Linked DNA regions of Homo sapiens: all the other regions are linked to region 1. Evidence: promoter capture Hi-C in 16 types of primary human blood cells and fetal thymus (Javierre and others, 2016). All regions are on one chromosome and are shown on one strand. The core of a region is centred on a gene start or on the middle of the fragment in contact, and the rest is flanking DNA. Distances in the headings are between cores, read along the strand shown.

Region 1 (4,309 bases), core at 1,028-3,527:
CTGTGGGGGCAGGACTCGGTTTAAGGAACCAACCGCCTCGGTTCGAGGGCCTCCTGTCCGGAGGTTGCTCCTGACCACTGGGTTTATTTTGCTTTTGCAGAGGAGGCAGATGTTGACCTCTCTTCTTTGCACAGTCTCTCCGCAAAATTTTCCCCCAACCATTTGCTTTCTTGCGCCACCCCCCACCGGGGCACTATCCCTGGAGTCAGCTCCTCAGGCCTTTAAACCTTCCAGAATGTCACACATGGAAACCTTTAGCAAATGTTTGTTAATGATCATAACAAAGGCATCATTCAAATTAGGCAGGTAATTACTACCAGAAGGACAACTGGGTGCTCGCTTGCTCATCCATTGCTTTCTGCTTTAAACTCCCGAGGAGTCGCTGCCTGGAGACACTCCCGCCCGGACTGCTTCTCGGGCCCCATTAAACGGCTCTGAAATGAACTGTGAAGTTACCATTTGTGGGCGGAGAGCGCTGGGGCCCTGCGGACGGAAGACCCTGGCTTGACCGGACTAACAGTGTCGCCGAAGCAAAGCAGCCCCTCTGGGTAGGCTGTCTGTCTCGCCTCCTACCCTCTGGGGCAACTAGCCTAAAAACCCGGTTCTCAACTTAACAGCATGTGGCCCAGCACCCGCTTTTGCCTTTTATTCCGCACTCTGATTTTTGGGGGGATCGTTTGTTCCCGCTCATTTTCTACAAACATTACGGTATCCTGTTAGCATTCCGAACAAGGGGCTGTTCATATATTTGCCTTCAATGATTTCCTGAAGGGACATGTGGAAGTAATAGCGAGCGGTGCAGTCACCCAAGCTGAAGATGCACGAGAGCGGGTCGCGTAGAAGAACTGCGGCAATGGGACCCCCAGCGCAGCCCCAGGCGCCCTGTTTTCGAGGCTGACATCCCAAGATCCTGTCCTGGTTAGGCACAGCACCGCGCCCGTTGGAGTACTTCTCTGTGACTCTCCCCTGTCCACTGCACTGTGTCCACCCTCCTGGTGAAGGAGGAGACGGCTGTTGGACATGCCAGTCCCAACCTGGCCACTTTGGCCATTTTCAGAGTGCGTGTGTTGGGGTGGGGTTGAGGGAGAAGGATGAAGGATGACCCCCAACCCCAACAGGAGAATTCAAAAATCAGAGAGCGATGAAGGTGAACGCGCTCCCCTCCCCCGCTGTCGCTGGGAAGCCCCACTCTGCCCAGGTCTGGTTCCTGGAGCATCAGCGCCCCCTTTCCCTCGCCGGCAGGATCGTTTCCTCCCGACACTGGCCTCTCGCCTTGGGCGCAGGGTTTGGGGCTCAGCTGTCAATTCCAAGGAATTCGTAGGGTTCGACCCACGCGGCGGGAGGGAACGGAGGGAGAATCAAAAGGCATCCTCCCCCACGACGCGGAGGCGGTGGTACGATTCCTCAAACGCCCAAGCTTGAGCTTTTTTTGTATGCGAGATAGAAGCCAGGGCAACCTCGCCCAGATAACCCCGAAAACAAAGGCACGACCAGATAAGTGACTTCAAGGGAGTAAAGGTCGTTCTATCGGAGAACGTTCCAAACCTACACAGACCCTCTTTTCTTTGTACCGTATTTCAGACCACCCAGTCTTGTACACACACACACACCACACAAAACAAAAACCCATCATTGTCATATTGGACTCAACAGTTTGCCCAATCCTATTAAATAACTAGCAACTATATAGCCCTTCCCCTAAAAGACCCCTAGTTCAAAACGGCGCAACCGCTTGGAGATTTCTCCCGAGGGCCCTATTTCTCGTTGGGCCGAGTTTGTAGAAGGGACATTTCTTGATTCTAGATTTATATTCTCTCTGGGTATTAAATGCAATTTTGTATGTTCCTTTTCTTCTTTTCAAAGAGAATACAAAACTATAGCAGTCTAAGAAAATAACCCCAAAATGGGGAGGCAAACTCATTCTGGAAATGATGGGCTGTTTGTAGTTTCACAAAACCTCTTTCCCGGCAGAGCACCAACACCTCCCCCTTCCACCACCCCCCATCCCATCTGGTCTGCTTCTCCCCGCCCCCCAGTTGTTGTCGAAGTCTGGGGGTTGGGACTGGACCCCCTGATTGCGTAAGAGCAAAAAGCGAAGGCGCAATCTGGACACTGGGAGATTCGGAGCGCAGGGAGTTTGAGAGAAACTTTTATTTTGAAGAGACCAAGGTTGAGGGGGGGCTTATTTCCTGACAGCTATTTACTTAGAGCAAATGATTAGTTTTAGAAGGATGGACTATAACATTGAATCAATTACAAAACGCGGTTTTTGAGCCCATTACTGTTGGAGCTACAGGGAGAGAAACAGAGGAGGAGACTGCAAGAGATCATTGGAGGCCGTGGGCACGCTCTTTACTCCATGTGTGGGACATTCATTGCGGAATAACATCGGAGGAGAAGGTAAGGGAAAAGAAAAAATGATTTTTTGTTTATAAGGGAAGTCCCTGATCAGACTCTGGGACTGGAGAAAGCGAAGTAACTTCAAACTTTGGGCGACAAGAAAAAAAAAAAGGAGCTGGATTCCAGTTGTGTGTCCAGAGAGTAATTTTTTTTTTTCGGAATAAACTTCACTTGGGGACGGGTGGGAGATAACCATAGAGTTAGAAAGTCTAGGTATTTTTTTTAAACACACATTTTCCAGACCTATTTTTAAAAACAATGTTTTTCTAACAACCCTATGGCCTCCCAAAGAAATTGTTTAGGCTTACATTTTTGAGGTTTCTTTTGGGAGTGGGGGTGGTGTTCGTGAATACTGGGCCGAACACCAAGGAACTGGGGGTGGAGGCAGAGGTGTTTGCCCTCTTCTTGGCAGTGGGTCCTGGAAGGCGACAGGTTTTAAATGAGTGTTTTCATTCCTCGCCTGCGGTTTGGCGGGACAGCGCTGCAGCCCATGGTGTGGAGCGCGGCTGGGGGACCAGGGGGAGGTGGGGAGAGGGGAGCGTGGAGGGGAGCGTGGAGGGGGGCGCGCGAAGGGGTTGCGGGGCGCAGGAGGCGGGCTGGGCTCGGCTGGAGACCGGACCTCGGTGTTGGCCTACAGCACAGGGAGCCGGCCGAATGCGCGTGATTACTGGACGGCGCTGCTCTGGGAGAGAGTCGGGGCCAGATTTGGCGCGGCGGTGAGGCGGCTGCGGGACAAGCAGAGGCGCGCGGGCGTGGGCAAGGGTTTGGGGCGCTCTGGAGCGGTTTGTTGGGTCAGTGAGGTGCCAGGGAGAGCGGGTGCCTGCCGGGCAGTGTGCTCGGGTTGCACGCCCTAGCGCGGGGGCGACAGCGGCGGCGCGGGCGGGCGGTCTGGAATAATGACAAACACATTTGGCCCTGAGTGAAGAAGTCGTCGTCGCCTCGCATTCCAGCAACTGGGATTTGAGGAATTTCGAACCGCACACCAAGGGGCCCTCATTGTGCTCCGTGGCCCCCGCCCCCGCCTGTCTTCCCGCGCCCCCTCCTCGGTGGAATCATTTCTGCATTGCCCGGGGGCTCTGCTTTCGCTCAGTTCTGGCCGCAGGCAGGAAGAGAGGAAAGGTCTCCAGGAAGGTGCCGAACTTCTTGTGAGGAAGTTAGGGACGACTTGGAACTGGGGAAACTTGTTTGCAGGTAAGACAGAAAGGTGGGAGGTAAACCATATTCTCCCTCCGGGCACCCGAGCCCTGGACACCCCCTACCCGGCACCCTTCTCCGCGCGGGGGTGCGTGGCACTTGCCGTCTGAGCTCGCCCAGCGCTGCTCGGTCCTCTCTAGTTGGCCTTTTTTCCATTCCTCTCCCTGCCGGCTTCAGAGCCGTCTGTGCGTACTTCTCCTTCCTCTGCTGTCTACCCCCATGGAAACCAGATTTACACACGAAATTAACTCCGCCCGGCTGCGCCCAGGGAGCGGGCGGCGTCCATTTGGCATTGAATATGTGGGATCAGCTGTTCTATTCCGGGAGGGTGTCGGCCAGGTCGGAGCGACGAGTGTGGCCCAACCCGAGTACGTTGCCAGAGGGAGCCAGGAGCCTGGGCCGGGCCAGGTGTGCGAGAGCTGCCGATGGCCTGGCCTCGCGTCTTGGTCGGGAAGGACTTGCTGGCCTGGCAGGCTGTGCGTTGTGCATCCCTCCCGCAGCCAGAGCGCCGGTCCCGCACTTCGCTCCCCGAATTGTGCTAAGACCTCAGGATGTGCGCAAGGAGTGCCTGGAAGAACTTGCCACTCACTCCATCTTCCTGGGTGGGAGGCAAGCATGGATGGGGCCCATATCAGGTCCCTACCGCCCCGCGTCCGAAAAGCCGCGGGCTGGGCGGTGTGGGAAATGGCTTTTTGGCTCCGAGGCCAAATTGCTC
Region 2 (4,309 bases), core at 835-3,334, 810 kb before region 1:
CACTCTCTCTCTCTCTCTCTCTCTCTCTCTCTCTCTCTCTCTCTCTCTCTCTCTCTCTCAGGCTACTTTTTCTCTTTTAAAACACACACTGTCTCACTCTCACTCTCTGTTAGTGTAAGAAAAACTAGATTCCTGCTCTTGTAGTTAATGTAACTGACAAATGTGGAGTTTGAGGCATTGCTTAAATGTTTGTAAAGAGCAAGTAAATAATGATTAAGATGTTTTTCGTAAGTTATTATATTTGGGCTGGGCGCTGTGGCACATTGCCTGTAATCCTGGCACTTTGGGAAGCTGAGGTGGGTGGATCACTTGAGCTCAGGAGTTTGAGACCAGCATAGGCAACATAGCAAAACCCCAACTCTACCAAAAATACAAAAATTAATTGGGCATGGTTGTGTGCACCTGTGGCCCCAGCTACCTGGGAGGCTGAGGTGGGTGGATCACTGGACAGGTGAGGCTGCAGTGAGCTGTGATCGTGCCACTGCATTCCAGCCTGGGTAATGGAGCCCAACCTGGTCTCTAAATAAATAAATAAATACATAAATAACAGTTATTATATTTGAAGTTGTGGCCTTATCATATGCTAGTTACTATTAATTTGTATAATACAGTGTTTTCCCGATTTTAACAGTATTCTTCAAGCCAAATCTGTAAGTGTTTTTCAAACTTTAACAGTATTCTTCAAGCTAAATCTATATGTATAACAGTGGCATTTTATTGGTGTAAGTTTGCTTTATAAAATCAAATTTTTAACTCTTGTGAAACTAATTAGAAGAGTGAAGCAGTTTCAGTGAGTGCAGGAAATTGAAACTGGTAATATGGATGATTGCTGTAAACATATCCTAATGCACAGTTTATTTTTTTATTTTGTTTCCATTTTATGTTACCAAGTTCTGTTCCTCTTAATTTTCAAGTGATAGTTTATTTTTCTTAAGCTTATGTTCCTATATTACAATGCTTTTTAACTGATTCATACTCTTGAATGAATAGTAAAAATTGCTTTTCAATGTTAAATCACGAATACATTTAAACATGCATGTATTTCTTCTATTAAACACAATACTTATAATAAAACTGGACGTTAAATGAATATTATATCTAAGAATGACCTCTTCCTCTGACTATCTCCTTTTATGTCTTGATGAGACACTGTACTGAAAAGATGTGCCCATACCTTGGGGCATTTGATCAAGTGCTCTGAATGCATGTTGCTATAGTGTGTAGTTTGTAAGATTTTATGTTATTGGACATATGAAGGCCTTTGGGGTTTTTTGTTTGTTTTTTTAAGATTCTTGTAGAGCTGTGTCTTTTCCTATCATTGATACATTTAAAAGCATGAAATTAAGCATAAATATGGAAGGTAGAGCTTTATTCCAAGCTCTGTACAAAAGTGAGTAAACTTGTTTGCACTTTTGAACACACTTATGTCCTCCAGTGAGTGAAATTTGGGCTTATTTCACCTTTAAACATTCAAGGTTTTTTTGTTTTGTTTTAAATAGAGCTTAAAAATTGACATTTAAAAAATTCAGACCCCAGAAAATTAGTATGATAAACACTGTTGAAGAAGAAGGGAAGGGGTTTGAAGTTGGTTATGCTAAGCCTGAATCCTAGTGCTGCCACTTTACAATGCAAAAGAGCCTCTTTCCACATCTGTGAAAATGAAACTAATTGGATATGTACTTTACTTTTTATTTTTTCAAGACAGAGTCTCACTCTGTTTCCCAGGTTGAGTGTAGTGGTGGGATCATAGCTCCCTGCAAACTCGAACTACCAGGCTCAAGCAGTCCTCCCATCTCAGCCTCCCGAGTAGCTGGGACTACAGGCATGCCCACCATGCTCGGCTAATTTTTTATTTTTTGTAGAGATGAGGTCTCACTATGTTGCTCAGGCTGATCTTGATCTCCTGAACTCAAGTGATTCTCCTGCCTCGGCCTACTCCCAAATCACACCTGAGATTACAGGTGTGAGCCACTATGCCGGCCCCATATACCTTAAATGTGATGTACTTGTAAGGATTAAATAAATTCTAAGCTGTGAAAGCACCTATTTCAGGGCTTGAAAGATAAATCAGCCAGGCGCAATGGCTCACGCCTATAATCCCAGAACTTTGGGAGGCTGAGGTGGGCGGATCACCTGAGGTCGGGAGTTCAAGACCAGCCTGACCAGGCCAGGCGCGGTGGCTCACGCCTGTAATCCCAGCACTTTGGGAGGCCGAGGCGGGTGGATCACGAGGTCAGGAGATCGAGACCACGGTGCAACCCCGTCTCTACTAAAAATACAATAAAAATTAGCCGGGCGCGGTGGCGAGCGCCTGTAGTCCCAGCTACTCAGGAGGCTGAGGCAGGAGAATGGCGTGAACCCGGGAGGCGGAGCTTGCAGTGAGCTGAGATCGCGCCACTGCACTCCAGCCTGGACGACAGAGGAAGACTCCGTCTCAAAAAAAAAAAAAAAAAAAAAAAAAAAACCAGCCTGACCAACATGGAGAAACCCTGTCTCTACTAAAAAAAAAATTAAAAAAAAAATAGCTGGGCGTGGTAGCATGCGTCCGTAATCCCAGCTCGGGAGGCTGAGGCAGGAGAATTGCTTGAATCCAGGAGGCAGAGGTTGTGGTGAGCTGAGATCGTGCCATTGCACTCCAACCTGGGCAACAAGAGTGAAACTCCATCTCAAAAAAAAAAAAAAAAAAAGATAAATCAGACACTCAGTGAGTGTCGGATCTCCTCTTTCATCATGGGCTTTATCAGTCTCTTTAAATGTAGTACTGATAGAAAATAAATTGTATGTCCAGAAAAGTGTTTTGAATTCTGTGATTTTTATTTTAGACTAGGTTCTTTTTCTGGGCGGGATTTTTCATTAATAAATTGTTACTCGAACATTAGAATATATTTTCTTTATAAATTGTGTATATACTGTAGAGAAAATTATTCTTGTGCTTGTGGAAGTAAAACGTACACACAGGTATAGAAACAGTACCATTTCAGACCAGTCATGTTGCCCGGGCTGATCTCGAATTCCTGGGCTCAAGTACCACAAAACTAAAAGATCTGTAGAAAAATATGTAATCAATGATATTCTTATGTTGATGGATATGACTTTAAATTTTTCTTGAAATAAATATTAATTTTTTATGAGCTACTTTAAGTTCTTTCTGGAGGGAACAAAATGTCTAGCAGTCTCTTGAACATGCCCTTAGATTTGTAGTCTTCAACTTTGACCATATTGGAATTACCTAGGAAGCTTCAAAAAAGTATTGATGCTGGGTCCCAGAAATGTAATTTTAAATAGTCTGGTGTACACCCTGTGCATCAGGATTTTGATATGCAGGCAAGGTTGAGAACCACTGATTTAGAGCCTTGATTCTGGGTTGGCATAAAGATTAAAATCAAATGATAGCTAGGCACCTACGGTTTTGAAGTAAAATGATAGATGTAGTTACAATGGGAGCTGATATTTGTATAGCATTTTACAGCCTCACAGTCTTTTTCTTTATGTGCTTCTCATTTAATTTACATTTTCTGCCTCTTTGAATGTCTTTTGGTTGGTAACCACTATCAAAGGTGCATGATACTTCTGTTGCAAGCAAATGGATAGGTAATATATTTGCCACGTAGAAATTGTGCACATATCTACCCCTCTCCATCTTTTCTCTATGCTCATAGTTGTCCCTCCATCTGAAATGTTCTATCTTCCCATCCTACATGTCTTTTAAGGCTCATCTCTTTCCTAACGTAGCTTAAAAGATGCTACACAATTTCCATGCAGAACTGTTTACAGCCATCTATTTACATATGTGACCTGAATTAAATGTCATAACAAGTGCATCTCTTTTCAAGTTGGGAATATGAGATAGCCACATTCTAGGCTTTTTCTTAGCAAATGGACCTTTGAACTGTTTGCTGCCCAGTTCTTATTAGAAGCCCTTCTGTGAGAAAACATTCATAGATGTCTACATTGATATGTGATTCACCCATTCTTTTAGAATATGGTTATAAACTTTCAAGCAATAATTCAAGCAATATTTCAAGCAAAATAATTTGAAAATTTGCTATAAACTCTGGACTTTTGCCTGGAAATTGCATCTATACATATCTATTTATTTAGAAATCAGGGACGTCCTGATTCTTCTTTAGAGAACCATGTTGCTAGTTAAGAACCTGAACTGTTCTCAAAAGCACAGTTACATTATTAGATCAAGCCTAACCATTAAGAGGGCTAGATACACAGACCACGTTGTTTTGCTTCCCCTGATTAAATTGCTCTTATTGAATTGGGCATTGTTGTGCTTCACTCAGCATTAAAGGGCATTTTG
Region 3 (4,309 bases), core at 887-3,386, 790 kb before region 1:
TGAAAAATAACTGTACTTTTCCTAGAATAATTTTAAAAATTTAGTGGGAAGTGGTCTTATTTTATGCTTTTGGAAATCTCTTTACTATGTGGCTTAGTAGAAAAAGCTGGTTTCTCCTGTTTGTTTTCACATTAAATCTATTGTGATATCACGAGTTATGTGGCCCCTGGAAACTACACTGTAAGAGAATGAGCATGAAAAAGGCAAATAACATCTTAGTAAATTTTTTTTTTTTTTTTTGAGATGAAGTTTTGTTCTTGTTGCCCAGGCTGGAGTACAGTGGCACTATCTCAGCTCACTGCAACCTCTGCCTCCCAGGTTCAAGCGATTCTCCTGCCTCAGCCTCCCGAGCAGCTGGGATTACCAGCATGTACTGCCACACCTGGCTAATTTTGTAATTTTAGAGATGGGGTTTCTCCATGTTGGTCAGGCTGGTCTTGAACTCCTGACCTCAAGTGATCCACCCACCTCGGCTTCCCAAAGTGCTGGGATTACAGGCGTGAGCCGCTGCGCCTGGCCACAGCTTAGTAAATTTATGAAAGTAGTTTTGACCTGGCAGATTCAGTAGGGTCTCAGGGACCTCCGGGAATTCCTGGACAGAACGTTGAGAACACTGCTTTGGCAGAAGCTTGGCCTGTATTGGATGAATATTATCAGTGCCCTTGAGGAAGTACACTTTTATCCCTTTAATTGAGAAACTAGTTTATGACTATAATGTTTATTAAGCTAATTTTATAATACCATGAATTTTTGGTCTTACTCAACAGATTACCTCAAATTAACTGGCACTGTTTGCCAGAAATGTAAGCATTTTCCAGAGTTACCATTAAAAAAGAACTCAAAGTTTTTGAAAACTGTATTTATTCTTGTGTTTTTCTATATTCAATTTAAAAAGCCTGCCTATCAGTGTTTTCATTAAATTCAAAACAGAGAGCAATGCTAATTATCTATAATAAATAGAATTTTCTGGCACAATTAAAATTTATTTAAATGTAAATTTAATAGAGATTAAAAGCTTTCTTAGGATGTTGATTTTTGAATGTGCTTTCTCCTCCAGGATGCACCCTTTATAATAGTTACATTTTGAATACATCATTGACACCACATTTTGTTGAATCTAATTACAGTTTAATTTGTGCCTTCTGCTTACACTGCTCTTTTGATCGTCTCATGATTATATGGAAGCTGGTAGAGATCATTTCTTTACAAGTTCTCTATTAAAAAACATAGGTATTTCTATCAAAAATGTTTTGTGTAAGATAGAAGTTTATCTTCTGTAGGCTTTAGATTTTATAAAATAGAAGAGTAACAGATCCTAATAAAGGTAACATAGTTTGTCCATTTTATAGTGTATGTAAAATTACCTTTTTTACCTTTTAGACATGAAGTATGCTGGTAAATTTTTGGTTACTTTGTTGTGTGACCGTACCACTTTTTAACCCTTTTTTCTTTTCTTAAAAATAACTTAAAACTTTTTTTGCACCTTGTAATTGTTTTAATTATGAAATAATGGTTTTGCCATATTCTTTCTACATTCTGGTTTGTATTTAAGGGTGGATGGTAGATGAGATGATACACGTGTGTGTGCGTATGTTTTTGTTTGTGTTGAATTTTTAAAATCCTGATACATAGAAACGCATTTCTGGTAGAAGGTGATATTTAAAGATTTTTGTAAACCTTGTCCTTTTCTACTCATTTTGAGTAAAACTTCTGAGCTTGATGGCTTTGAAATACAAGTCATGAGACTTAAGGAAAGTGATCAAGTTTATCTGTTTCTTAAATAATAGTGCCGACGGAACTTGGAATTTACTAGTGAGAAATAGGAAGCGTAGTTTACATATTCTGCCATTTTTTTTCTTTCATGTGAATTTGAATAGAGAAAAGATAGATGGTTATTGCATGTATTGGGTTTCTACTGCCGTATAACAAGTTACTCCAGAATGTAGTGGCTTAAAACAACATACATTTATTATTGAACAGTTTTCATGGGTCAGGAATCTGGGACAGCTTAGCTGGATCCTCTGCTTTAAGGTCTCTCTCAGACCTCACAGTCTTCTCCAAAAGCCTGACTAAGGAAGTATTTGTCTCCAAGCTCACTCACCTCTTTGTTAAAAGGATTTTGTTTTTTTCTAGGCTGTTGCATTGACAGGGCTTCAGTTCCTCACTGGTGTAGGCGTCTTAATATGTTAGCTTGCTTAATCAAAGCATGTAAGCCAAGAAGGCAACAGAGAGGGTGCCAGTGAAATAGAAATAACTGTCTTTTGTAACCTAGTCATGGAAGTAACATCCTTTGATTTTTTTTGTGTGTGGTAGAAATAAGTCACAATGTCCAGCCCCCACACAGGACATAAATACCAGCAGACAGGGATCATTGAGAGCCATGTCAGAAGCTATTTTGCCTTAGTTATATAAAATTATGATAGACTACATTGAGAATGAGTTTATAGACAATCTGTTTAGTTTTTTTGTGAGTGCAAAGCCCACTATTAATTTTGTGGGAATTTTTAGTATGGGTAAATTCTTTTTAATATGATGTTTAACAGGAATGCTGCCTTTCTGTTTCTTTGCCTCAGTTCTTTCAATCTCCAAAATAGGATTTCAGGTCTTACCCCCACCCACTTTTACATTTAAGTGTATGTGTTATATGCTGGAAAAATTAAGCTGGGTGTGGTGGCTCACTCCTGTAATCCCAGCACTTTGAGAGGCCAAGGCGGGTAGATTGCTTGAGTTCAGGAGTTCGAGACCAGCCTGGGCAACATGAAGAAACCCCATCTTTATAAAAAATGCAAAAATTAAGGCCAGGCATGGTTGCTCACACCTGTAATCACAGCACTTTGGGAGGCTGAGGCGGGTGGATCGCTTGAGCCCAGGAGTTTGAGACCAGCCTGGGCAACATAGCGAAACCCTGTCTCCACAAAAAATGCAAAAAATTAGCTGAGCATGGTGGTACACACCTGTAGTCCCAGCTACTTGGGAGGCTGAGGTGGGAGGATTGCTTTGAGCTGGGGAGGCAGAGGTTGCAGTGAGCCGTGGTCATGCCACTCACCCTACACAACAGTGTGAGACCCTGTCTCAACCAAAAAAAAAAAAAAAAAAAAAAAAAAAGAGAGAGAAATCATCTTCTCTTTTGAGAATGCCAGATGGTGTAGGCTCTCATAGTCCTTTTAAGTGTCATAGGTAGATGCTTTTGTTTCATAAAAATTCGGAATGGGATTTATTTAGTCTGTACTAAATTGCTCAGCAGTGAAATTAGGAGGGAAGCTTAGAATCGGATCCAGTGATCCTCATAGTATAGTCCTGGGCCAGCAACATCATCTGGGAAATTTAGGGGAATGTAGGTTTTCTGGTCCCACCCCAGACTTACTGAATCAGAAATTCTAGGGGAAGGGCCCAGCAATCTGTGTGTTTTAAGAGACTCTCCAGGTGATTCTCATGCATGTTCAAGGTAGTTTTTATTTATTTATTTATTTATTTATTATTTTATTTTATTTTTTTGAGATGGAGTCTCGCTCTGTTGCCCAGGCTGGAGTGCAGTGGCGCGACCTCGGCTCACTGCAACCTCCGCCTCCTGGGTTCAAACGATTCTCCAGCCTCAGCCTCCTGAGTAGCTGGGACTACAGGTGCATGCCACCATGCTTGGCTAATTTTTTGTATTTTTAGTAGAGACAGGGTTTCACCATGTTAGCCAAGATGGTCTCCATCTCCTGACTTTGTGATCTACCTGCCTTGGCCTCCGGAAGTACTGGGATTACGGGTGTGAGCCACCGCGCCCGGCCTATGTTCAAGTTTTAATACCACTAATCTGTTCAGTCTGTTAGAGCTTGAGTATTACTTTTCCAAAAGGTTTTGGCTGGCACTAGAAATCTACTTTTACTACTGTTACATACAGCTTTCCAGGAAAATCAACATTTTTTTAAACTCATTTTTCAGATAAAGGATATAGAAAAGAAACAAAATACTTTCCTTATTTAAGTCTGTTGTCTAGGTTAGGCAGCATGTGTTTGCCAGGAAGATGGAGGTGTTGGGAGGGGAAAGAAGAGGGACGTTTGAGATGAATTTTCTCTTCCCTTACACTGTTTCTCTTTTATTAAGAAAAGTCAAATACTAAATAGTGATTTTTAAGTGAGAATGATGTTGGCCTTACATGATATCACGTATCAGTTTGAAAATACATTCAGTAATTGTCAAAGAATTGGTTATATAGTGTTTCATCAACTTTATAGTCTTGTTTTAATGAACATTTACTTATAAAGATTTGCATTGAAATAACATCTTAGATGAAATGGAGGTCTCACAAGAAGGGCCCTTG
Region 4 (4,309 bases), core at 1,114-3,613, 770 kb before region 1:
CTGCGATTACAGGCACCTGCCACCGCACCCTGCTAATTTTTGTATTTTTAGTAGAGACAGGGTTTCACCATCTTGGCCAGGCTGGTCTTGAACTCCTGATCTCATGATCCACCCACCTCGGCCTCCCAAAGTGTTGGGATTACAGGCATGAGCCACTGCACCTGGCATGATAGACATTCTTTTGGTAAAGTCTGTTGGTTGTAAGTTTTGCTTATTTTTTTGTTGATGTTTACAAAGGCTGTTTGAATCTTGAAATAAAATATTGTTGAGTACACTTTTCTAGGTTGAAATTTTTTTCTCAACACTTTTTTTTTTTCTTTTTTTGAGATAGTCTCACTCTGTCGCCCAGGCTAGAGTGCAGTGACATGATCTCTGTTCACTGTAACCTCCGCCTCCCGGGTTCAAGTGATTCTCCTGCCTTAGCCTCCCAAATAGCCGGGATTACCGGCATGCACCACCATGCCCGGCAAATTTTTATATTTTTAATAGAGACGGGGTTTCACCATGTTGACCAGGCTGGTCTCAAACTCCTAGCCTCAAGTTATCTGCCCGCCTTGGCTTCCCAAAGCGTTGGGATTACAGGCGTAAGCCATCGCGCCTGGCCTCCTCTCAACACTTTGAAGATGTCCCAGTGTATTCTGGTTTCCATTTTTTATATTGGGAAGTTTGTGGTCAACCTAATTCTGATTCCTGTTCACCTTGTATAATGAAGGGTCTTTATATGTTAGGTTTTTAAGATTTGTTTCTGGATCTTCCCGATACTGTGGGTATTCATTCACCATGTGATATTTCTCTTTTCTATTTATAAAATGAATTTCTATTATAATCTCATGACACATTTTTGGTGGGCATTTTGTTTTTTTAAAGTACCATAACGTTTGTTTTTAATCGTGTTTTTTCTTTAGTTGCCTTTCCCCATCTTCCTGGTTCTGCTCCTTCGTGGCCTAGTCTTGTGGACACCAGCAAGCAGTGGGACTATTATGCCAGAAGAGAGAAAGACCGAGATAGAGAGAGAGACAGAGACAGAGAGCGAGACCGTGATCGGGACAGAGAAAGAGAACGCACCAGAGAGAGAGAGAGGGAGCGTGATCACAGTCCTACACCAAGTGTTTTCAACAGGTTTGTTGGGTGTGCAGGAGTTTATACTATGTATTTTATAAGCACTTACAAATTTATTTTCGTTATGAGGAAGTGAATTTCAGTTCACTTGGAAAAGAGATGCTCAGGGAGTACATAGGAAAGCCATCTTAAAATGATAAAGGATTAGAGGCTTCCCATTACCTTGAACAGTAGTCCTTAAATTTGTTTGTTTACTTATCTCTTAAAAGAATTTTCTACCCCTTCATTTATTTTTATCTTGCCATCTAAGTTTTTCATCTTAAGCTTAAATTAGTTGACCATATAGATATTTCCAGTGTATTATAAATATTAATATTTAAAAAGAAAATTATCACCACTTCTATTATTATTCTATTTTTAGAGACGGTCTTGCTTTGTCATCCAGGCTGGCTGGAGTTCAGTGGCATGATCATAGCTCACTGCACTCTTACATTGGAAGAAGATGCCATCTAAGACTTTCAGAGCTAGAGAAGAGAACTCAGTGCCTGGCTTCAGAGTTTGAAAGGACAGGCTGACTCTCTTGTTTCCCAATGCATTGTTCCCTAACGTAGGAAGTCCTGGGCTCAAGTGATCCTCCTGGCCTAGCCTCTCAAGTAGCTAAGACTACAGTCATGCATCACCATGCTTGGCTGATTTTTAAAATTTTTTGTAGAGTCAGGATCTTGCTGTGTTGCCCAGGCTCACTCTCTTAAAATATATCCAGTGGATTAAAAACACTATAGTGATTTTCCAAAATTATCCATTTTTTAAAGAAAATGTACAAATAGTCTCTCTTTAAGAATTGGAAATTTTACATTTCTTTTTGTATTCAAATTTTTACTTCTGTACCACTTCCCTCAAAGAATTTTGTTCTAATGTAAAAGTTTCATAATCTTAAAACTTTTTAAGTGGGTTTTCCTATTAGTCTTTCCTGCAACACACTTATGTGTTAAGTTTTAATGTTTAAGGAAATTTTTCTTGTATGTGTTTTAAAAAATTTTCATCCTGATTTTAGTTATTTATATTCTGTCAGTGCAAACCACATGTACAACAGTGGTCTCATAAGATTACAATACTGTTTTTACTGTATCTTTTGTTTAGATACACAAACACCATTGTGTTAAAATTTTCTACAGAATTCAGTGCAGTAATATGCTGTACAGATTTGAAGCCCAGGAGCAATAGGCTATAACATATCACCTAGTGTATAATAGGCTGTACCATCAAAGTTTGTGTAAGTACACTCTGTGGTGTTTGCACAACAATGAAATCACCTAATAATGCATTTCTCAGAACATATCCCTGTCATTAACTGACACTTGACTGTATACATATACCGCAAATTTTGAAAATAATGTAATGGAATTGCATCCTTTAATGAGAAGGAGGAGCTTTCCACCATCCCCAGTGAGTATTACTATTGTTAGGAAAAAACAGAGTTTGTTCAGAATGCTTAAAATATTCAGTAAACCATCCTGTAAACAGATGTGCTGCCATTCAGGCTTTGGTGTTCCATTGATAGAGCACAGGCAGAGTCGATTTACCATAATTCTAAGTCGATTTACCATAATTCTAAGGACTCCAGGATTTTCAGGGTGGTAAATGGGCACCAACTTCAACTTAAAAACACCAGCTACATTAAGGAACAATGCATTAGGAAACAAGAGAGTGAGCCTGTCCTTTGAAACTTTGAAGCCAGGCATTGCCTTCTCCTCTCTAGCTATGAAAGTCTTGATGGCATCTTCTTCCAGTATAAGGCTATTTGGTCTACATTAAAAATGTGTTGCTTAGTGGAGCTACCTTCATCAGTGATTTTAGCTAGATCTTCTGGATAGCTTGGTGTAGCTTCTACATCAGCAGTTACTGCTTCACCTTGTACTTTTATGTTATATAGATAGTGTCTTTCCTTAATCCTTACAAACCAACTAACCTCTGCTAGCTTCCATTTCTTCTGCAGCTCCCTCACCTATCTCTGTCTTCATAAAATTGAAAAGAATTGGGCTTTGCTCTGGATTAGGCTTTGGTTTAAGGGAATGTTGTGTGGCTGGTTTGTTCTTCTATCCAGACACTAAAACTTTCTCCATATCAGCAATAATGCTGTTTTCATTTTCTTAACCATTCATGTGTTCACTGGAGTAGCACTTTTAATTTTCTTCAATAGCTTTTTCTTTGGCTTGACAACTTGTCTGTTTGGCACATGAGGGCTAGACTTCAGCCTATCATTACTTTTGACATGCCTTCCTCTTCAAGCTTCCTCATTTTTTAAAAGCTTAATCATTTTTAGCTTTTGATTTAAAATGAGAGATGTGCAATTCTTCCTTTCACTTGAAGGCGTAGAGGCCATTGTAGGGTTATTAATTGGCCTCATTTCAACATTATTGTTTCTCAGGGAATAGGGAGACCCAAGGAGAGGAAAGAGATGACCTGAACAGTGGATCGGTCAAGAACATGTACATTTATTAAGTTTGTTGACTTACCTGGATGCGGCTTATGGTACCCCTAAACAGTTACACTAGTGCCTCAAACTAGATCCTGTTCAGAGATATTATAACAAATTACTGAGTTTATTTTGGTGCAAAAAAAATTGATATCGATGCATAATTTTTTCATAGTATGCATTTTCCGTGAACTTTTTGAAGACCTCTCATATTGTCAAGCTGTCTAGGACTGGTCGGTAGCTTAAAACTTTACCAAAAAAAAATGCACAAGAAGGAACTGATGAGGATTTACTCATCTTTTTTCCGTCCTTTGGCTCCTGCTAATATGACTTATACATTGTAGGCACTTAATAAAATTTTATTGACCAAGTAAGTAAACACTATGACACATGCGTGTGTGTGCATGAGTATATGATTTGTGTTTGCTTGGTGGGAAATGTGCTGTTGACTTTAGCCAATTGGAAATGTGCTGTTGACTTTAGCCAATTAAGTGCATGATTCTTCTAAGTTCAAGGGCATTACTTTCCAGAAAGTCAAATTGTTTCTAATGTGGAAATGAATATATGTGAGATAGCATTGCTGTCTCTAGAATGTACATGTTTATAAGTAAGGAACTTAATGCAAAACTTGATAGGAAATAAGAGTAAAATAAATTGCTTTGCCAAGCAGGACTCATAAATTTTCTTTGCATAAATAACACATTGTTTATAGAAGATTTGGCTAAATCCTCTAATTCTTCTGCTTCAAATACATGCACAGATATTACTGAGTTT
Region 5 (4,309 bases), core at 1,010-3,509, 750 kb before region 1:
TAAAAGTTTTCTGTCCCACAAATCCTGCTTTGTCTTCTTTGGTATTTCTTTGAATTGTTTAAGCTCTTATTTTTAAAAAGCTACCTGGTTTCCTAAACCAAACAAGATTTTAGTAAGAATATAAAAACTGAAATAATCAAAGAGCCATATATGTCTCAGTTTTTTTAAATATGTTACTTTTTTGTGAGGATATTTCAGAAGTCAGATAGAATATAAGTTAAAACGGAAATAATTACAATTCCGACTAAGTCAGTTTGCACGTTTCCAGGAATTAAGACATATGACAGAGGGTTGCAGCAGAAATGTGACCAGATCCTCCCAGCTCTTTCATGATGAGGAGGTGGAAGGAATTCTAAAACCACAGTGCAGATGGAGGCTACCTTCTCCATAATTTGATGACTTAGAATATGACGTATTCTAGTTAATTCAACTAAAATTAGTTAATTGGATAAAAACTTCAATTAATTAATTAAGCTAATAAACTAGTTTTTCATTAATAAAGATGATCAGTTAAATTTAAACATTAAGCATTTACTAGCAAAAAGACATCACGGAGTCCTTATCCATAAAATGTTTTAGCAGGATATATCTGGTCTGTCTAGACTCCTTATTGTAGAGAAACAGGTAATTTATGGATTTATGAGGCTTGGCTGGCTGGAGAACCTGGAGGGGTGTATAACCTTGTAGGCTATGTAATTAACATAGTATAAAGCAGAGATGTTCCAAAATAAAAAATTTGAATATTGTTTCTCTATATATTACTCAAAAACTCAATTTGTAAGCTATTCCAACCAACATATAGATTGACGTAGAAAGAAAAGGGCATTCCCTACTTTCTGTTGCAAGAAGAATGAGCTACCTTTAAGAATTTTTTTTAGTTACAAGTGATGCCATGAAACCAGAACTCAGGAGAGATGACTGAAAGAAGCTCATCAGCATCACAACAGGATGCCAAGCCAAAGCTATAGGACTCTTAATTTGGACTAAACAAGGTTTGTGTTGCTTAAACACGCATCCAAATGAAGAGGTTAAGGCATTGCCTCTAATAGAAGCCACAGAGAGAAGTACAAATTGGGCTGAGTCACTTCATTTAAAGTGAGGCTGCAAACTGGTGGCCTGAAGAATGAATTCCACCCACAGATCCACAGTGTTTTAGAGTTTTCTGGATTTGAATGCCATATAACATGTGCTCTCTGGTTTGCCCCAATCCCCACCACTCCCTAATGTTACATGAGCTTCAAGTGTTTAAATTATCTTCCTGGGCCCTTCGGCAAACACAAACAAAAACTAAAAGTAGCGGGGAAATCACTCATTTCTAGGCAGACTGAAAAATTCAAAAGCCAGAAACCAGGCAAACTGCTTGCTTCATTTCAAAGTGAATAAAATAAGTCCTCAAACAAGATGACTCTTGGTAAAAACATGCCATTTATTTGGCTTAGGCTAGAAATCAGGTCCCTGTATGAGGTCTGCATGATCAGGTTTCAAAACTTTCCTGCACCTTCTTCTCTCCTGCTTGGATGGGAGACACCTGTTATCTCTCCAAGTCTTAAATATGGGACTTTGGGCTTTTAGTTTTACAAGTCAAAGTGTTTCTTTAAGTAAAAAAGTCCAGAGATGACACTTAGACATGTTAAAACAAGCAGCCTTCCCAAGAAATAGCCCCTTGCAGGAGCAGGCGACCTGCCCTAGAGGCCTCACCTTGGGAGTGTTGCTCCTCTCCCCTGGCCCTGGGGACCAGCTGCCATTGCTGTTCCAGCCGGCTTCCTGAAAGATGTCAGGGCTCCGCTGCCGAACCTGGCGGGACACGACGAGGTGAACACGTCTTTCACTGGCCTGGGCAAGAAGACACAGGCATTAGCCACTGTCAGTTTCCATCCACTGCATTCAGCACCAGGAGCTTACAAAAACATCACTTTGATTATACCATTTTTTTATGGCAAAACATGATTTCTAGTTTGTTGGGTTTTTTTGTTACTATCCATCTTGTAATTTGCCAAGAGCATGAGAGCTCTTTCCTTTATCCTTAAACCAGGTAGTAAATGTTGCTCCAAGGGAAAACTAGGGAAGGTTTGGTTCCTTCCAATCTTTGAAAAGGCATCATCAGATATTGCTAATTCATTTTTAATTAATGGTTGTACCACACACAAGCCATGCCCTAAGTTCTTCCCAGATAGAATTAGGTGCACTGTGTAAAGTAGCAGCCCAAAGCAAAGATCTAAGATCAATGGTACACAGTAAAGAAAAAGAGATGGAGTTAATGGCAGTAACTTGCCACTGCAGGAAGAGAAATCCTGAGCCTGACACTTGCAAATATTTGGGCATAGGAAAGGTTTAGCACTTTAGAAATATGGGGATGACTTCATACATTAATATGTACAACCTAATCAAAATCCTTTACCTTCAATTCACAATCACAAAGACATGGAATCAACTTAAGTGCCCATCAACTGATAGGTAGATAAAGAAAATGTGGTATGTATATACCATGGAATACTACTCAGCCACAAAAAAGAATGAAAAAATGTCTTTTGCAGCAACTTGGATGGAACTGGAGGCCATTATTTTAAGTGAAGTAACAGAGGAATGGAAAATCAAATACTGCATGTTCTCACTTGTAAGTGGGAGCTTAGCTCTGGAGATGCAGAGGCAGAGTAATATAATGGACTTTGGAGACTCAGAAAAGGGGAGGGTGAGTGGGGTGAGGGATGAAAAACTGCCTATTTGGTACAGTGTACACTATTCAGGTGACAGGTGCACTAAAATCTCAGACTTCACCACCATACAATGCATCCATGTAACCAAAAACCACGTGTATTCCTAAAGCTATTGAAATACAAAATGTTTAAAAAACTGCAAAAGAGTAATTTGCCTTGATTTCTTTATTTTTTATGGAACTACCAGTTACTCTGCTAATTCTCTCTGCTATGTACATTGATATTTGGACAGGCATTCAGAATAGCAAATATAGTACTTATTGGAAAGGTCCACTCCACATCATCGATATGGTTTGACTGTGTCCCCAGTCAAACTTCACCTTGAATTGTAGCTCCCATAATTCCCATATGTCATCGGAGGGACCTGGCAGGAGGTAACTGATTCATGGGGGTGGGTCTTTCCCATGCTGTTCTCGAGATAGTAAGTCTCACGAGATCTGATGATTTTATAAATGGGAGTTCCCCTGCACAGGCTCTCTTGTCTGCCACCATGTAAGACATCCCTTTGCTCTTCCTTCATCTTCCACCATGACTGAGAGGCCTCCCCAGCCATGTAAAACTGTGAGTTCATTAAACCTTTATAAATGACCCATTCTCGGGTATGTCTTTAATAGCAGCATGAGAGCAGACAAATACAATGATACATTTACAAATTGTCTTTCTGCCACAGATTAGTTTCACATGTGTCAGGTAGTATGGGCCATTATTCCAGAATTGCTGACCATTGAGATTTCAGAGCTGCAGGTCATTCAGACTAAATCTTAGACCTATGAAACTCACATAAATAGAGCTCTCTGGTGGCCTAGGCTGAAGTAGCCAGCTGACCTCATTTATCACTTTAGTAAAAGTTGAAAATGAATGAGATATGGAAGATTTGATTAGAAAGATTCCCAAGACAGACCTGGTTTAGGGACAAGGGAGATGGAAGAGAGAGGAGTAAGGTTTGGTGGTTCCTCTCTTCATCCCATCCCTTGCCCACTCACCACCACAACAGAGAAGGGGCAGTGACCTGCCAGCTTTCTTCCTATACAGGGATGGTTATTGGGCTAGGGGAGAAAGGTCATGAAATGAGGGCATTGAAATTCCATGCTCTTTTGCATTGACTCAGACAATGGTGGTGGAGATATTTTCTTCCTGCCTGCTATGGTCTGAACATGTTTCCCCAAAATTCAGATGTTAAAATCCTAACCCACAACACGGCAGCATTTGGAGGTAGGGCCTTTGGGAGGTGATTAGGTCATGAAGGCAGGTCCCTCCTAAGGGGATTACAGCCCTTATGAAAGGGGCTGGAGGAATCTTGTTTGCCCCTCTACCATGTAAGGACAAAGTGAGATGGTGCCATCTGTGAGGAAGTAGCCATCCCCAGACACCAAACCGGCTAGTGTCTTGATCTTTGACTTCTTGACCTCCAGAACTGTGAGAAATAAATTTATGTTGTTTACAAGCCACCTAGGATAGTGTATTTTGTTATAGCAGCATGAATGGACTAAGACAATGCCTTTTCTGCATCTTCATTCCCAGAGCACACAACTCACTCACTCTCAGGAACTAGGACCTTGTTTTAAAAATCTCAAGTAAACACTTTGGGAGGCTGA
Region 6 (4,309 bases), core at 1,810-4,309, 530 kb before region 1:
CTATACCATTTCCAGAGAGGTCTTAAAACATAAGTCCAATTGGATCTCTCTTCTGCTTAAGAGGCTTCAGTAGCTCTCCATCACCTGAAGAAGGAAGCCCAAACTCCATACTATGATGTGATCTGGAGTCTGTCTGTATTTCCAACCTGGTTTCATGTCACTCCTTTTTCCACATATGTCCTATGTACCCAGACAATTTGCATCCATTGAACCCAGGCTACTTGAAGTTCCCACATGAAAACATTCTTTTGCTTACACTGTTCCCTCTACTTGAGTGCTTTTCTCTCTTTTTAAAGCCTGACCAAGTACTACTTATTCTTTAAGCACAAAATCACCTCTTCCCAATTTCTGAAAGCAAAGAGGATTCACCCTCTGTGTTCTCAAAAAACCATACCTGGTTAGTATTTTTATGGTTGTTGTTGTTTTACCTGAATGTCTTATTCAGTCACTTATTTATTCAAAAAATAAGTATATTCTTATTGAGCAACTACTATATGCTAGGCACTATCCTAGGCACTAGGGATACAGTTGGATACAAAACAGGTAAAACATTTGCTTTCAAGAAGCAAAGGGATGGTCTGGCATGGTGGCTTATGTCTGTAGTCCCAGCACTTTGGGCAGCTGAGGTGGGCAGATCATCTGAGGATAGGAGTTCGAGACCAGCCTGGCCAACATGGTGAAATTCTGTCTCTACTAAAGATACAAAAATTAGCTGGGCATGGTGGCATGCGCTTGTAATCCCAGCTACTTGGGAGGCTGAGGCAGAGAATCGCTTGAACCTGGGAGGTGGAGGTTACAGTGAGCAGAGATTGCGCCACTGTACTGCAGCCTGGGAGACAGAGCGAGACTCTATCTCAAAAAAAAAAAAAAAAAAAAAAGAAGCAAAAGAAGCAAAGAAGCAAAGCGGAGTCAGACAGTGAAAAATAATTAAAATACACAATGATTAGATGATGCTAAGTGCAATGAAATACAATAATTCAGAGACGGAGCACATGGAGGCTCCCACATGGGTGGAAGCTGTCATACTGACTAGGGCACTGGGGAAGGCTTCACTGGAATGACATTTGAGTTAAATCCCGAGCAGGTGAGGAGCATCTGGGGATGAGTATTCTCGGCCAAAAATATAGCAAATGAAGAACCATTGATGTGGGAGTGGGCTTGGCCTGATTTAGCAAAAGCACAAAGGCCACTGTGCTTGGAGCAGAGAGAACAAGGGAAAGAGAAGCATAAGATGGGGTCAGAGAGTAGCAATGGAAACCTTGAGTTTGTGGCATGAGTGAGGTGGGGCGTGTTGGAGGATACTGAGCAGAAAGGGGTGTGGGCTCACGCATGTTTAAACAGCATCCTGTGTCCTGAAGAGAAGGGTGAATGCAGGGAGACCAGGGAGGAGGCTCCTGCCATAGGCCAGGCAAAGTACTATAGCGGCTCGGGCCAGGATGGTTGTCCTTATTAGACTTGAGTGACTTGAAATCTGGGACTAGATCCCATTTATGTTTTAACCTCCAGCATCCAGCACAGTGCACCACACACAACACAATAGGTGCTCAAAGGCACTGAATAAACAAATAAGGCACGTTGTCTCAGCAAGCAGCTACAGCTTCTGAAGTCAGCACTGTTTGTTTTTCTAGGGCCATGTCTTAGTCTGCTTTGTGTTGCTATAAAAGAATGTCTGAGACTGGGTAATTTATAAAGAGAAGAAGTTTACCTAGCCCTTGGTTCTGCAGGCTGAGAAGTGCTAGGCCATGGCCCTGGCTTTCCACAAGGGGTGTCATGCTACTTTACAACCTGGCGAACAACAGTAAGGAGAAGCAGACATGAGGAAGAGGGAGAAACCTGAGGGATGTCCTGGCTTTGTAACAACACCCTCTTGAGGAACTAATCTATTTCTGGGAGAACTAATCCAGTCTTGAGAGAGTGAGAACTCACTCACAAACATGAGAACAGCACCAAGCCATTCATAAGGGATCCACCCCCATGGCACAAATACCTTCCACTAGCTCCCAACCCCCGACGCTGCCACAGTAGGGATCAAATCTCAACATGAGCTTTGGTGGCAACAAACGAACCATATCCAAACCATTGCAGGAGAGATTTTGTGACATTTTGTTTCCAGTAGGCAAGCTTCATCTTCTGTGTTTCCTAATTGAATGGCCCTTAGGCCACATTCTGAGGACAGCGTGGGTGTTTGCATGAGGGCCAACACAATCAAAACTTGATGATTGTGAAATTGTTTTTCTTTAAATTACCTTTGGACATTTGAAAAATGTGTTTCAAAAAATAAGTAAAAACCACCCATTCTCCAAGGCGGGCTGCCTTAGCTAATTGAGTGCCTCAAGACCCCAGGTGCATCCTAGAACGCTGTCCAAACCTGTCTGAAACCCAAATCAAGTCTTTGATGGTCAATGTCTGTCTTTCTAGTTCTAATTTAAAGATAAAAAAATACCTGTAATCCCAGCACTTTGGGAGGCTGAGGTGGGCAGATCACTTGAGGCCAAGAGTTCGAGACCAGCCTAGCTAACATGAAGAAACCCTGTCTCTACTAAAAATACAGAAAATCTAGCCAGGCATGGTGGTGCACGACTGTAGTTTCAGCTACTTGGGAGGCTGAGGCAGGAGAATCGCTTGAACCCAAGAGGTGGGGCTGCAGTGAGCCAAGATCTCAAGACTCCGTCTCAAAAAAATAAAAAAATAAATCTTCATTAAAAAAAATCCAAATCAACATTTGGATAAGGTAATTTGAGAAGGATTTATTAGCATGTGAATTTATGTATTTATTTATTTATTTTTAAGAAAGAGAAATGTACAGAGAGATGGCGGGAGAGCAGTCTGGTAGCAGTTCTTTAAACTCTCTGTAAAGCTGGATGGTTATATGATTTCTCAGAGTTGCTGCAGGGCTTTGATGAGATAATATCACTAAAATGCCTTGGACCAAGCCTACCATAGAGTGACACTCAAGAAATGTTAGTCCCAGCATTTTCCCTTAACAATTGCCTCTTCCCCTAACAATTCTCTCAGCTGTTTGCCAGGGATCTGAATGTCCTGGGTCCACCAGGCTTCTCAGTCTGACAAGATCACTTTTCTCATCTGGTAACCTCAAGGCTACAAGATGAGTTTTACGGGCCCTTTCCTTCATAATGTGATATCAATTTTTACATGATTTTTGATATAACTTTAAATTCTTCAACATTGTATTTAATTTTTATTTTAGACAAAGTCTAAATTTTCTTAGACCTTGAAAATTTCATTTTTTTAGATGTGAGCAATAATGCAAAATTTTTTAACCCTAAAGTTTTGTTGTTTTCCTTCTTGATTTTAAAATAAACTCACACATTTTTGTGGGTCCCTAAGAGTACCATGGACCCTGGGCACTGCGTCTAATGAGAAATAATGGAAAGAGAAACAAAAATGTGAAGAACAAAGTCCAGCAACTCAAAGTTGCTCAAGGAAGGGATATTGCTTCTGTGGGAAGTTTTACTCGTCCCTCAAATGGGTTTTCCTGGCTCTTTGACTCTTCAATCCCTTCCAGAGGACAATAATAAGATTTGTTCTTTGAAACTGAAGGAAAACCATAAACGGTTGGTGACTGGGTTGGTGAACATTAGCTAATGTGAAACAGAGCACAGGACTTGTCTAACAAGGAATTTGCATATTCTCATCCACGTAGCCTGGTGTAGGTTCTGCCTGGGGCCATGGGTAATGAATGCCTGCACAGCCTCTCCAGACTGTCAAGGGAGCCACTTGCACCCAAAACCTAACCTCAGGGGCCTCCAGGCAGATCAGGAGAGCAGGTCATTCACCACTCACGAGGACAAAACGAACTGACTCAGCCTTCTTTTGGGGGTAGGGGATTGATTCCTGGACCATTAGGGAGTGTTTAAAAGAGATTAATTGGCCACTGGTGGGACCACTCCAGTCACTTTCCAGGCAAGACAGGGCTACCTTCAGCATCTCTAGTGAAAGTGGTGAATTAGCACTTCAGAAGTGAGATGGCATGGACAGAAGCTTCTGGGGCTGAGCTCACCATTGGAAGCTTCTTTCCAGCTTCCTGAAGGTCTCTGGAGGTCTCTTCTTACCGGGGAGGATGATCCCTGGTGGCTCCCTGCTGACATTCTTCAAAACTCGGCTATTTCCCCAGTGTCCTGCTGATAAAACAGAAGAGGAAATGATGAAAGTAGGTTGCTCTATTATTAACTCATCTTTTAATTTCAGTTCGTTTGTTTTAGTATGTTTCTTGATGCTAGGCATGACACCCATTCATTCATTCATTTATTCATTAAACAAATGTTTATCAATGATATGTGACATTCTA
Region 7 (4,309 bases), core at 619-3,118, 520 kb before region 1:
ATCCATAAGAGGTTGGTACTCACATTCCCATTTAACAAGTGAGGAAACACAGGCTTAGAGAGGTTAAGTAATTTGCCTCACACCTTGAATTCAGCAGAGTGGGGTTTCAGGTGTGCTTTCGTCTGACTCCGGCACTGAGTAAGCACTGTGCTTACTTCTGTGATAGTGAAGGTCACAGAAAAGCCGGGCTCAGCCTGAGACAAAGGCTACTGCTGCCAGAAACAGCAGGAAAGACGGTGAGAGCCAGGCTGATGAACAGGCCTCCCTTTAACTCAAGTTCAAAATCACAGTGGGATGAAAATCTGAGCATTTGAGGTTGGTTGGCTTCATTTTAACCATGTGCCTAAAAATTTGTCATCATTTAAAGACCATTTCCTCTGCACCTGCATCCAAAATGCATCCAGGGTCCAGTGTTTTAAGGAAGAATTACTCAGATGCTCTGTTTTGCTTCTTCACAATCCATGCATTCCACTTCTAATCACGTCGAATTTGTGGAGATAATGGCCTCGAGGGATTGGGAGGATGAAAATCAGGAGAAGTGAAGCTGATTTCTCCTTGACCATGTGGCTTCTTGAAATTTCAGGGTAGGCATTAAAAGAAGTGGTTGGTCGAGATTAAAGACTGAACTGTGCATCTTAGCTGTAATTTATGTCATTTCATCTGGGAGAAACATAAAAATCAACAGCTTTTAATGAATCTCTGCTTGGATGTTTTGTCACTCCTCAAAGAGTCTTTAGAAACACATTGAATCCCATGCCCAGATTATTAGGATTGAACCTTGCTGTGAGGGTATAGTGATGAGCAACATGGCTCTTATATTTCTCCAATGTTTGTCAAGACCAGTTTTTGTGAAAAAATGATTTATTAATTATTATATTAATAATCTGATGTATTAGCCCATCAATGAGTGACCTAGACAGGGATGTCGGTGGCATTCCAAGTGTCAGCCAGACACCCCACGCTTTCTATTTGCCCATCCGGTATGCTGGGTGCTACAGCTCTGGGGTCATTCTCCTTAGAGATCTTGGAATTCTTGAGGCCTTACATTTCTAGCTGCCACTCACTTCTCCTCAGCTTGCAGACATGGCCATGCTGCATTTCACTGACCCATTGCATACGAGTCCAGCCCCTGGGGAATTGCCTTAACTCTCAAGCATCTTAGGAATACACTTTTTCCTGTTTTAAAGAAGACCCTGGAAAGGGCAACAAAAACAGAACTCATCTCTAAGAATGCTGGCAGTGGATCCTGGAGGTTAACATCACAAGCTTTGGAGTCAAGCAGGCCTGGATTGAAATCCTTCCTCAATCACTTACTAGCTGTTTGGCCTTGGATGAGTTACTTGACTTCTCTATAAACGTCAATTCCCCGTCTGTAAAATGGATATAATTGTATATGTCTCGTTCTACTGTTGTGAGGATGGAGTGAGATTATGCATGGAAAGCACTTCAGCATTGAGAAGCACTCCAAATATGATAACTGTTAGTGTTATCAGAAGAGAAATTCAACATATCAGCAAAAACTCCCATCTACAATCTTAAAAACATTGTTAAGTGAAAGAAGCCAGACACAAAAGGCCACATGTTGTATAATCCCTTATATATGAATGTCAAGAGTAGGCAAATCTCTAGGGACAGAAAATAGATTAGCAATTGCCTAAGGCTGGAGAGTTGGAGGGGAATGGGGAGTGACTGCTAGTGGTTATGGTGTTTCTTTTAGGAGTGATTGCAATGTTCTGGAAATAGATAACAGTGATGGTTGTACAAATTTGTGAATACACTAAAAACCACTGAATTGTACACTTTTAAAGAATGTGTTTTATATATGTGAATTATATCTTTTAAAAAGTTATATTTAAAAAAGAACTATGTACGATGCAGCTAAAACCAGAGACTTTTTAAAGCTAATTTGTTTCCTGGAATCTCTCTACCTCTCCAAGCCTGGAAGAAGGATTAACTGTCATCTCACTGGAAGACTGTGTCTCTTTCTAGGTAAATCATTTGTTATATGATGACTGCACAGTAAATGTCAACCCATTGCAATTTTGGCATTTGTGGGGATCAGTAACATGCAGTTCTCTTGGCATTCTACGAGGGACTGCTAAACAGCCTGGATTTATGAGCATGAAGAGCCAGCCTACCATGCCTAAATCAGAGCTTCTCTGCATCTTGGTTCATTTGGCAGATGTTCCAGGTGATAAGTGAGATGTTTTCCTCCATTTAAAGTGAAAAAACCGAGGCAAGGAACAGAAAAAAAGAGTCTATTGGATTAACTGTGACTCTTTTGATGTATCATAGCCATTGGTTCTAACTGAAGGTGTGTGTGTGTGTGTGTGCACGTGTGTGTGTGTGTATGTGTTGGGGGAATGAGTAGGGTAGCTTTGCTAAAAGGGAAGAGGGAAGGAGATGTAGATGAGTCAGTGCCTACTGCAAAACTGGAGTGGATTAATTCTGGAATTTCATTGAGCATATTCAAAGCTTCCAAAGTATAATTTTAAAAACGTGTTTTCAGATTCACATCTCAGACAGAGTTGTCAGCGCTGCTTAGGAACAATTTCTTTTGGTGTGAGTAAGGTTACAAGATTTTGATAAAAATATTATTTCTTCATGTTTGGAATGTCTAAACAGATTTGTGGTTTTTCATTTTGCTTTAAAACATGATTAAATGTGCTTTAAAAAAATCAAAGCCTTCTGTCTGGGTTTTGAATCTCTTCCAGATTTATAGCTGCTTAATATTATATATGTCATGCCGATTTTCTTTTGGTTCAATCATGTCAATTGAGATTCTTTCAAAGAAAAAAAGGCTTATTAAAAAAGGAATTGTTTGTCCACCACATTAAGACTTTAAGAAATTTATCAAGATATTGATCAAGAACATTTTATTTTTAAAATTCTTTGCTGGAGCTGCTAGGCGGAGTAGATACCCAGAAGGAGAAGCTGAGGGAGATCTCAGGGCAGGCAGAGAATCAAAGTGAAAGTCAATTTGAGTAAGTTTTCCTTGGGCTAGCGTGCACACACTGGACTCTTTAATTACCTTTGTTTTTATGGAGAATGTACTCTCCAATGGGACTTAGTTGAGAGTGAAGGTAGTACATGTTGTGCTCTGTACTAAGAATCTTTGAGAGACTAAGCAGGAGAAGAGAAAATGCTCCCATATAGATGACCTGAACACTTAACAAGCAGTAAATAACAACAGCTACACGTATTGTCCATTTACTATGTTCTTGCACTCAGCTGGGAATTTCATTATTTTCCATAAAGCCCAATGATATTAGTGTGATTGTATCCATTTTAGAGATGAAGAAACTGATGGTCTAGAAGGTTAAATAACTGGGCCCAAGGTCAAGTAAGGGCATGGTTTATCTAAACTTTGAATCAGATCTGTTTGGTTCTTGCTTTTGACTACATCAAAAACCTGACAGATGGTCTTGCAATTGGAAACTGGGTTAATATCCTACTTCTAAAATCTTCTACTGCTTAGTTTCCCTATTCTTAGAGGAGGTCTTTTTTTGGAAGCCTAGTAAACTGCTCCTCCTAATGCCTTTCACTCATGAGTGATGCAGCTGCCCAAATCAGAAACTTGAAAGTTATTCCAATGCTCCCGTTTTCTCAGCCAGCACATGGATAAATCAAGTTCTAGAGATTCCACTCCTTCTATTTCCCTGCAATCCACCTTCTCTAGCTCTGCATCCATGATTGCAGTTCAGAGTGTGCCATTTTGCAGTGCTACTTATAGCAGCCTCTTAATTGGCATCTCTGCCTCCAGTCTTGCCCCCTCCAGTTCACTTCCCAAGAATGCTTTCATTCCCAACAGTGATTTTTCAAAAAAAAAAAAAAAAAGTGTAAGCAATCCTGTTCATTCACTACTAAAAAATGTTCACTCTCTTTTCATTACTTCAGGATGAAGTTCAAGTTTCCTAAGATTCCTTATAATGACTTCACTGATTTGGTTTTATCCTTCCAGCCTCATTTATTATATAACACTCTCTGGATCAGGAGTAGACTTGGTTACAAGTGACAGAAAAATGAAAATAACAGTGGCATAAACTACTAGAAAGCTGATTCTTTTCCTTTACATATGGGTGGTATCATTCAGTCATCCAGAATCCAAGTTCTTTCTAGATTATTTTTCCACTTCCTTAGCCATGTAGCTTCTGTGTCATTGGCTGGGGTGGCTGCTGGAAATTGAGCTCTCAGATCCCCATGTTAACCCGTGGAACAAAGGGAGGACCAAAGAAAGTCATGCCCTTCCCTTTTTGATGGTGTCCAAGAAGTTCCACTTAGGAACTCCCATTTCGTTTCCATGTAACTT

Evidence for each region. Contacts are between HindIII fragments. The CHiCAGO score rates a contact against its expected background, and 5 or more counts as called.
Region 2: a fragment that was not itself captured here is called in contact with the fragment with the promoter of PDGFRA in region 1 in 1 of 17 cell types (M0 macrophages); the score reaches 6.0 in M0 macrophages.
Region 3: a contact is called between a fragment that was not itself captured here and the fragment with the promoter of PDGFRA in region 1, in 1 of 17 cell types (M0 macrophages). The highest score is 5.5, in M0 macrophages.
Region 4: a fragment that was not itself captured here is called in contact with the fragment with the promoter of PDGFRA in region 1 in 2 of 17 cell types (M2 macrophages and M0 macrophages); the score reaches 6.9 in M2 macrophages.
Region 5: a contact is called between a fragment that was not itself captured here and the fragment with the promoter of PDGFRA in region 1, in 1 of 17 cell types (M2 macrophages). The highest score is 5.1, in M2 macrophages.
Region 6: a contact is called between a fragment that was not itself captured here and the fragment with the promoter of PDGFRA in region 1, in 1 of 17 cell types (M2 macrophages). The highest score is 7.2, in M2 macrophages.
Region 7: a contact is called between a fragment that was not itself captured here and the fragment with the promoter of PDGFRA in region 1, in 1 of 17 cell types (M0 macrophages). The highest score is 5.4, in M0 macrophages.

Annotation. Positions count from the first base shown.
Region 1 is chr4:54,227,016-54,231,324 of GRCh38, forward strand. PDGFRA (platelet derived growth factor receptor alpha) reads left to right here and starts at 2,278. Exons shown (of 23, transcript NM_006206.6): 1 at 2,278-2,400. RefSeq lists an enhancer at 751-1,576. The HindIII fragment of the contact is 8,996 bases long and covers 1,416-4,309 here.
Region 2 is chr4:53,417,762-53,422,070 of GRCh38, forward strand. The region is part of intron 11 of FIP1L1 (factor interacting with PAPOLA and CPSF1); the gene reads left to right. Among named protein-coding and RNA genes, the nearest start is that of FIP1L1, 42 kb to the left of the region's middle. The HindIII fragment of the contact is 2,302 bases long and covers 934-3,235 here.
Region 3 is chr4:53,434,249-53,438,557 of GRCh38, forward strand. The region is part of intron 13 of FIP1L1 (factor interacting with PAPOLA and CPSF1); the gene reads left to right. Among named protein-coding and RNA genes, the nearest start is that of FIP1L1, 59 kb to the left of the region's middle. The HindIII fragment of the contact is 2,246 bases long and covers 1,014-3,259 here.
Region 4 is chr4:53,452,015-53,456,323 of GRCh38, forward strand. FIP1L1 (factor interacting with PAPOLA and CPSF1) reads left to right here. Exons shown (of 18, transcript NM_030917.4): 16 at 906-1,119. Among named protein-coding and RNA genes, the nearest start is that of LNX1-AS1, 46 kb to the right of the region's middle. The HindIII fragment of the contact is 1,965 bases long and covers 1,382-3,346 here.
Region 5 is chr4:53,480,022-53,484,330 of GRCh38, forward strand. LNX1 (ligand of numb-protein X 1) reads right to left here. Exons shown (of 11, transcript NM_001126328.3): 7 at 1,699-1,833. Among named protein-coding and RNA genes, the nearest start is that of LNX1-AS1, 18 kb to the right of the region's middle. The HindIII fragment of the contact is 5,424 bases long and covers 1-4,309 here.
Region 6 is chr4:53,691,998-53,696,306 of GRCh38, forward strand. It overlaps LOC100506444 (a long non-coding RNA gene), which reads left to right and starts at 3,904. Exons shown (of 3, transcript NR_125918.1): 1 at 3,904-4,171. The HindIII fragment of the contact is 1,881 bases long and covers 2,120-4,000 here.
Region 7 is chr4:53,712,365-53,716,673 of GRCh38, forward strand. All of the region lies in intron 1 of LOC100506444 (a long non-coding RNA gene), which reads left to right. Among named protein-coding and RNA genes, the nearest start is that of LNX1-AS2, 120 kb to the left of the region's middle. The HindIII fragment of the contact is 1,209 bases long and covers 1,265-2,473 here.